Linked DNA regions of Homo sapiens: region 1 is linked to region 2. Evidence: promoter capture Hi-C in human tissues and cell types (Jung and others, 2019). All regions are on one chromosome and are shown on one strand. The core of a region is centred on a gene start or on the middle of the fragment in contact, and the rest is flanking DNA. Distances in the headings are between cores, read along the strand shown.

Region 1 (4,126 bases), core at 5-2,504, 930 kb before region 2:
GCATGGAGCCTATCCCCTCCCCAACTTCTTCCCCAAGGTCTGTCACTGGCCGCTCCCTACAGTCCTTGGTCACCCAAGGTGGATGACCTGTGCCCCACGGTGAGGATGGAGGCTGCATTACCTTGTCTCCTATAGCTCACACCAAGACTCGGTGGAACAACTTTGTCAAACTCAAATGCAGTGCGCTGCAGGCTAATGATGAAAATTCCTGGGCCCTCTGAGTCAGGTACCTGGGGTGGAGCCTGCAAAAAGGGATTTTTAACAAACCACCAGTGGGTTATTCACATGCAGGGCGTTGACTGGCTACACTCTGAGCTGACGCCTGTGAGGCTCCAGGGGCTTGTACCCCATGCCCTCTCTTGCCTGAGGTCTTGCTCATTCCCAGGGACTGCCCTCAGGCCCTTTCCTGTCCTGGAGGGAGGAGGCTGTAAAGAACAGAGTGGCTGCAGGTAACAGCAAGCTTAACATACCATCCTCACTGAGCTCTGTGTGCTGTGGGCTTGTTCTTTGGTTCATGCATTAAATAAATACTAGGCCGGGTATGGTGGCTCACGCCTGTAATCCCAACACTTTGGGAGGCCGAGGAGGCCAAATTGCTTGAGTCTAGGAGTTTGAGATAAGCTTGGGCAGCATCATGAAACCCTCTGTCTACTAAAAAAAAAATAGAAAAAATTAGCTGGGCATGGTGGCATGTGCCTTTAGTCCCAGCTCCTCGAGAGGCTGAGGTGGGAGAATCACCTGAGCCCAGGAGGTCGAGGCTGCAGTGAGCTGAGATCATTCCACTGCACTCCAGCCTGGGCAACCAGAGGGAGACACTGTCTCAAAAACAAAAACAAAACCACATTTATTGAGGGACCCTCCAACCCTACCCCCACATGTCTGGCATAGTTGTAGTGCTGAAGATATAGCAGTAAAGGATAGAAACCAGGCCAGGTGTGGTGGCTCATGCCTGTAATTTAGTACTTTAGGAGGCTGAGGTGGGAGGATCACTTGAGCCCAGGAGTTTGAGACCAGCCTGGGCAACATGGTGAAACCCCATCTCTACAAAAAATTTTAAAAACTTAGCATGATAGCATGATGGCTCATGCCTGTAGTCCCAGCTACTCAGGAAGCTGAGGTGGGAGGATCTCTTGAGCTGTGGTTGTGCCTCTCTACTCCGGCCTGAGTGACAAAGCAAGACCCTATCTCAAAAGACAAAAACCAAAAAACTACCTTATTCTCATGGAGCTTAAATTCTTTTTTTTTTTTTTTTTTTTGAGATGGAGTCTTGCTCTGTTGCCCAGGCTGGAGTGCAGTGGTGCGATCTTGGCTCATTGCATGCTTCGCTTCCTGGGTTCACACCATTCTCCTGCCTCAGCCTCCCGAGTAGCTGGGACTACAGGCACCCACCACCATGCCCGGCTAATTTTTTTTTTGCATTTTTAGTAGAGACAAGGTTTCACCGTGTTAGCCAGGATGGTCTCGATCTCCTGACCTTGTGATCCGCGTGCCTCAGCCTTCGAAAGTGCTGGAATTACAGGCGTGAGCCACTGCGCCCGGCCATGGAGCTTAAATTCTAAAAAGCAGACAGATATAAACCAACCAATTGATATAAAATGTGCCAGAGGGAACTTTGAAGTAAAGCAGGGGGTACCGTGAGGCCAGTCATCTGCTCAGAGAAAGTGGGGAGGAGTCAGATTTGACAGCTCCTGGCCATCATGGGGACAGGGAGAGCCCACATGGGAAGGCAGATTGGTTGCCACTCAGGAGGTGCTGGGGGCCCAGCTGCTGTTTGATCAGGAGTTTGGGGAACTTGGTCATGAGGATTGATCCAGGCCTGATGTTTCCCAGGCTAGTGTGGCAAGCAAGAAAGAGTTAGCCAGATAGCGCTGAGGGGCAGAGGGCCTGAGTTCAGGATGGTAGTACAGGAGTGGGGGTGCTGCGGTCAGCCTGGGAGAGGGACAGGCAGGAGGGAAAGATGAGGCTTAGTTAAGATGGCAGAGGGAGGCTGGGCGTGGTGGCTCATGTCTGTAATCCCAGCACTTTGGGAGGCCGAGGCAGGCAGATCATCTGAGGTCGGGAGTTTGAGACCAGCCTGACCAACATGGAAAAACTCCGTCTCTACTAAAAATACAAAATTAGCCGGGCATGGTGGCGCATGCCTGTAATCCCAGCTACTTTGGAGGCTGAGGCAGAAGAATCGCTTGAACCCAGGAGGCGGAGGTTGCGGTGAGCCAAGATCGCACCATTGCACTTACTCTAGCCTGGGCAACAAGAGCAAAACTATCTTGGAAAAAAAAAATGGCAGAGGGTGAATCTGCCATTCTGGCAAGATCCAGATGATTGTCTGGCATTTGGTGACCAGCATGGCCTGGAGGTGAGAGGCTCACAGATATAGAGGCTGTGGTAGATTGTTCCAGCAATGGCTCCCTAGGGATCACTGCTCCCTGTAGCTATTCCCATGAGTGGGTCATGTGGTTGACTTTGCCCCTGAGGGACTCTGGGAGAATCTGCTGAAGGAGGTGAGAATTCTAGCTGTTCTGGTTGAGACTCCAGACGTGAGTAAGGCCACCCTAAACCATCCAGCCTCACCTGATCTGGCCCAGACTGGAGGAACTGCCCATCTGATCACAAAGTCATGAGAATAATAAATCAGTATTGCTTTAAGCCCTAAGATTGAGGATGGTTTGTTACACAGCAGAAGCTGACTGATAGAGATGCTGGCATGAGGAACTGGGACATGTGAGTACTTAAGGTGGTCCAGGATAAAGATAAAATGTCCTTCTCAGAGCAAGGCAGGGACTGGGGCAGGAGCAGTTTTGATAGGCCAGGAGTAGTTTGGGAGTCTTAATTAGCCACTTTTTCAGCAGACCCTGGTGTATCACTGAGGAAAATCAACACTGAGCCATGGGCTCATCAGGGTTGGGGAGAAACAGGAGACCTAGGGTTCCAGGAACTTTGCGGGAAATGAATGGGGTGAAGGATTCTGGAGTTCAAAGCCACTGTGACCATACCTGTGTCTTGTTCCCCAGAGCTGAAGGCAGTGGGGAGAGATATGGCTCATGGCATCTGGCAGACTCTCCCAGGTCCTCCTGCAGTCCTGGGTAGAGCTCTTACTTTGGATCAGACAGACTTGGGTGTAAACCCAGCTTAGCTCTTGGGAGCTGTGTGTCTCTTCAATGCACTGAGCCTTGGCTCCTTGGCTGTAAAATAGGGAGAATCCTTCAACTTCAGACTTGTTGAAGGGATTGGGAAGAATATGGCACATACTTGGTGCTCAGATAACATGGGCTCTTAGTATGTTATTACTTAGTATGTTTTTACATGTTTCTCATTTCTTTGTTACACACAATATACCCTGCAAAGGAGAAATTAGTGCCCACGTTTCAGGTGAGTGCTGGGAGGGAAGATGGTAGACAGTGGTTGAGTCAGGACTTGAGCCCAATCCTGGACAGCAAGTCTGGCATTTTAGTATGCCCCATTCCATGCCATCCTCTGTGTCATACTGTTATGGGCTCTTTGGGTTGTCACTTTTCTGGCCAGAAACATCTGTGGCTGATGGCACCTTTACCCGAGTTCTTGTCCTGTGTCCAGGAGGTACGCAGACAGGTGGAAGGTGAACATGATTAAGAGAAACTTTATTGAGTGTTACAACAGTTCACAGGAGACCCTCAGTGAGTAACTTCTGTCTGTAGGCAGATGGTCTGCAGTGTTAACTCTCAGCGGAGAGGAGGCCCTGGAGGATGTTGCTCCTCTCTGCTACTGTTTGTCCCATTATCTCCAGTTACCAGCAGAGACAGTAGCTCCTCTCTGCAGCTGGTCATCCCTTTCTCTGTCCTCTCTCCTGCTCTGGCTGAGCCCGGGACTTTTATAGACCTCAGAGGGGGTGAAGTGCATGCTGATTGCTCTGTGGGTGGCCATGGGCAGCAGGGAGGGAGCACCACAAGTCCCCACTCCGGCCCTCAGGACTGGCAGCTGGCTCCCAGCCTTCAGGCCCTCCCTGGCCTGAAGGAGGGGCCTTACTGGGGACTCGCCCCCTTCTGCCCAGGAATCTGACTCCCGCTGCCATTCATGGCCCCTGGGGTGCAGCCCCAACCCTGCTCCCAGATTGGAGCAGGTGCCTGGAGAGGAGATAGTCCAGGCAGCG
Region 2 (4,469 bases), core at 1,236-3,735:
GCACAGAAACATCAACACTCCATTAGCTGCAGCTAGTAATGCTAATAATTATAACTGTCATCTGTCCCTCCCACAAGAGGGCAGGGAGCTGGCTCTGGTCACAGTGGCTCTGAGATTCACACTCCTTCCCACTTCTCCTGCCAGCTCACACAAGTTCCTCCTCACAATCATACAAGATTTGTCACGCCTCAAACACATGGCAGGTAACATTCTACCTTCACTCTCAAGCATCACCTTGTGGCCTTGGGACTCAGGACACGGGACACCCACATAAGCAGCTGATGTTCCATCCTCCAGGTGTGGACACTGAGGTCCCAATAGGGAAAATGATCTGCCAGCTTGAATCAGATGGGAGGACTGAGCAAGGCCAAAAAATGGGGATAATAATATGAGCCCCTCCCTTGATGGGCTGTTACAGAAGAACTGCAAGGATCCAATGGGTGTCTGCAACAAGTGCTCTAGAAGTGGGCCCTGCTGTTCTCTCCATAACTCCCAACATGTTCGCAATCAAGGAGCCTTTTTTTTTTTTTTTTTTTTTTTGAGACAGCGTCTCACTCTGTCACCCAGGCTGGAGTGCAATGGCGAGATCTCGGCTCACTGCAAGCTCCACCTCCTGGGTTTATGCCATTCTCCTGCCTCAGCCTTCTGCGTAGCTGGGACTACAGGCGCCCGCCACCATGCCCAGCTAATTTTTTATATTTTTAGTAGAAATGGGGTTTTGCCATGTTGGCCAGGCTGGTCTCGAACTCCTGGCCTCATGATCCACCCACCTTTGCCTCCCAAAGTGCTGGGATTATAGGCGTGAGCCACTGCACCCCGCCAATCAAAGAGCTTTGCTATTGCCATAGGATTCACATCAGGGTACAGTGGGTCCCCAGCCCAAGGGCAGAGGGAGCCCAGAGCATTTAATAAAAAGACTGCAAAGGGGAGGCGCCAATCATGGGCCCCAGCTCCAGTAAGACGTGAAGGAGGCAGGGGTGGGGGTAGGAGGGCTTGTACAGCACCTCAGTGCTTCCAGCTTCTGACGGGGAGTAGCTGAGCATTTTCCCTGGGCTGGGGGCATCAGTAGTGGGGGCCAGGCCTCACCCTCCTCAGAAGGTAGGTGGGCTCTCCACAGCCTGTCTCCCTCACTGACACATGCACACTCACTGGATTCTCACCGGCACTTTTGTGATAGCTGTCATCATCATTCACACCTATTTCTTTTCTTTTCTTTTTCTTCTCTTTTTTTTGAGACAGGGTCTCGCTCTGTCTCCCAGGCTGAAGTGCAGTGGCACCATCACACCTCACTGCAGCCTCAACCTCCTGGGCTCAAGCGATCCTCCCGCCTCAGCCTCCTGAGTAGCTGGGACTACGGGAGTGCACCACCACACACACTTCCCCTAACTTTTTTTATTTTTTGGAGAGACGGGGTCTAGTTTTGTTGTCCAGGCTAGTCTCAAACTCCTGGACTCAAATGATCCTCCCGCCTCAGCCTCACAAAGTGCTGGGATTACAGGCGTGAGCCAACCTCCTGGGCCACTCACACCTATTTCTTAGAAGGGTAAGTTGAGGCTGACTGCAGCTGACTCCTTCCCCAACCACTCTCACACCCTACTGGCTGACTCACCCTGCTTGGCAGACTCCTGGGCCCCTCCTCTCGGACTCTGCGACAGGCCAAGGGGGTCCAGACCCTCCCTGACCCCAACAGTCCCAAGACGCCACAGCTGGTGGGCGGAGAAACAAGGGGATTCTCCCCTGGGGCCAGTGGCCATGGCTTGGCCTCGAGTGAACCCTGCTAGGGCCCCAAACCCAGGGCCTACCTAGCTCCTGTTCTTCCCGCGCGGGGGAAGGGGGGTGCTCTGCTCCCCTCCCTCCCCTTTCTGGCAGGGCTCACGGTTCTTCCCCGGGGCGCATCCACAAACCTGAGCTCCTTGGCGCTCACCACCATAACGCTGGCGTACAAAGCTGCTTCCATTCACTGAGCACTCAGTAGGCGCCGGGCACAGCACTAGGTGCCTATCCGGCGTAGACATCGGGCCTGATCATACAGCTGAGCTTCAGAGACCTCAAGTCCCTGCCCAGGCCCACACAGCGCTCAGCGGTGCTAGGATGCCCACTTGACAGACAGCGAAACTGAGACCCAGAGGGGTCAAGTCAGGGGCAGAAGCAGACTCTGGAGGCCTCCGGGTTCTGGACCTTCTCTGCCCCATTGTCCCTGATTAGCCCGCAAGCAAGCCACGGCCTAAGCCGAAGGAAGAACTCGCCTGCAGGAGCCCCCGTTCGTTCCCAGGGTTTGGACGCCCCGGGCTGGGCCCCGCTAAGCCCCTCGGGCCGCCCAGGCGCCGGACCCCCGTCCCCGGAGCCCCCGCGCGCGCTCACTTTGGGCTTGTCGAAGGCGGGCGTCTGGGCCATGGTGCCCTCGTGCGCCCCGGCGCTGCTCCCTCCGCCGCCGCTCGGTGGGTCTCTGCCGGCTCGGTGGCCGCTCGGCTTTCCCTGGGGCCAGCGGTGGCCGCGGCCGGCCACGCTCTTCTTAACGGGCCGGGCCCCGCCTCCCGCCCCGCCCGCCGCCGTTCCCGGGGCCCGCCCTCTCGCCGGAGCCCCCGCCCCGCCCGCCGGCCTGGATCGCGCATTTCCTGGAATTCTGGACCCGGCGTCCTCGCCCGCCGACCCGAAAACTACGGCCCCGCGGCGCCCGACCGGACCCACCTGTGGGCGCGCGCTCCAGCCGCCTCGCTGGGCGCTGCCTTCCCCCCGGCTCCTCCAGCAACTTTCAAGCGTCCCCCTGCAGTCTGGGCGCTGCTGTGCGCCAGGCCCAAGCTAGAAGCGGGGACCCCGGGAGCATCGCAAGCCTCGAGCGGCGTGCCTTCCACCGGATAGACGGACGCTCGTCGCAGAAACACACACCATAATTGTATAGTTAAGGAACTTTCGAGGGGGGCCAGCCGTGGCCTGCAGAACCTGCAGGAGTTCATCAGGGGTGGGTGGGGGTGGAGAGGACATTCTACGTGAGAGACTCCAGGGAGCTGGGAGTGAAAGGAGGCGAGGAAGGCTGGAGCTCGGAGGGAGGGAGAACACAGACAGTCCCCTCCTGGGCATTCACCTTTAAGAAACCCGCCCAGGCGCAGCCAGAGACCTGTGCAGAATGTTCACACCAGCGCTATTCCGAATAACAGGAACATTGGAAACACCCTCAAATGCCCCTCCACGGGCGAGTGGGCAAATAAACCGGAATATTCACACCATGAAACGTTAGACAGCAGTGAAACGGAATGAACTTCAGCCAGACAACAACAGAAACAATGTCTCAGAAACAATGTTGAGTGAAAAAAACTAAGTTGCGGAAAACTGCATACAATGGTGCAACTTTTAGAATGTGTAAAAGCAAAACCAAAAGTATGTATGTTTAGACACATGCATCGGTGGAAAAAATGTAAAGCAAGGGAAAGATGAGCATAGATACGAGAAGAGTGGTTATCTCAGGTGAAAGGGAAGGAGCCGGGAGGAGGTAAGGACGGAGGGAAATAACACGCGGGTACAGGTTATTTATTTATTTATTTATTTATTTATTTATTTATTTATTTATTTACTGAGACGGAGTTTCGCTCTTTCGCGGAGGCTGCAGTGAAGTGGCGCGATCTGGGCTCACTGCAACCTCTGCCCCTCTGGCCCGCCTCCTCCCCACCGCTCCCCCGCACCCCCAGCGTTTCAAGCGATTTTCCTGTCTCAGCCTCCCGAGTAGCTGGGATTATAGGCGCCCACAACCACGCCTGGCTAATTTTTGTTTTTTGTTTTTTTGTTTTTGTTTTTGTTTTTTTGAGATGGACTCTTGCTCTGTCGCCCAGGCTGGAGTGCAGTGGCGAAATCTCGGCTCACTGCAACCTCCACCTCCTGGATTTTAAGCAGTTCTCGGCCTCAGCGTCCCGAGTAGCTGGGATTACAGGCGCGTGGCACCGTGCCCTGCTAAGTTTTGGATTTGTAGTAGAGACGGGGTTTCACCATGTTGGCCAGGCTGGTCTCGAACACCTGACCTCACATGATCCACCCACCTCGGCTTCCCAAGGCGTGATTACAGGCATGAGCCACCACGCCTGGCCACACACAGGTTATTGATAATGTTCCAGTACTGGGGTGGATGGTAGCTTCATTTCATTTCATCATAAATAAATTAACAAACCCATAAACAAGGGGGAAAGAGAGAGTGGGAGAGTGGAGAGCAAGGGGCTAGAAGGTCTGATGGGAGCTGAATCCTGCCAGGGATGTGGGACCCAGCGATGGTGTGGGATTCCTAGGAAGTCAGTGGAGTGTTTTAAGTGGAGGCGAGACAAAATCACCCTTTTATTTGGAAAAAATATTCTCCAGCTACTGAAAGTGTGATCCAGGGATCATCAGCACCCACATCACCTGGGAGCTGACTACAAATGCAGACTTTCAGACCCCATCCCAGACCTACTGAAGTAGAATCTGTATTTTATACAAACAGGACCCCC

The links. Contacts are between HindIII fragments. The study calls those that stand out against the background at their distance.
Region 1: a fragment that was not itself captured here is called in contact with the fragment with the promoter of ADA in region 2 in 1 of the 25 tissues and cell types used here (pancreas).

Annotation. Positions count from the first base shown.
Region 1 is chr20:43,717,505-43,721,630 of GRCh38, forward strand. No RefSeq gene overlaps it. Among named protein-coding and RNA genes, the nearest start is that of GTSF1L, 7.4 kb to the right of the region's middle. RefSeq lists a silencer at 2,911-3,111. The HindIII fragment of the contact is 4,595 bases long and covers 1-3,552 here.
Region 2 is chr20:44,649,214-44,653,682 of GRCh38, forward strand. ADA (adenosine deaminase) reads right to left here and starts at 2,486. Exons shown (of 12, transcript NM_000022.4): 1 at 2,362-2,486. The coding sequence starts at 2,394. RefSeq lists enhancers at 1,935-2,044, 2,275-3,258 and a silencer at 2,295-2,684. The HindIII fragment of the contact is 13,377 bases long and covers 1-4,469 here.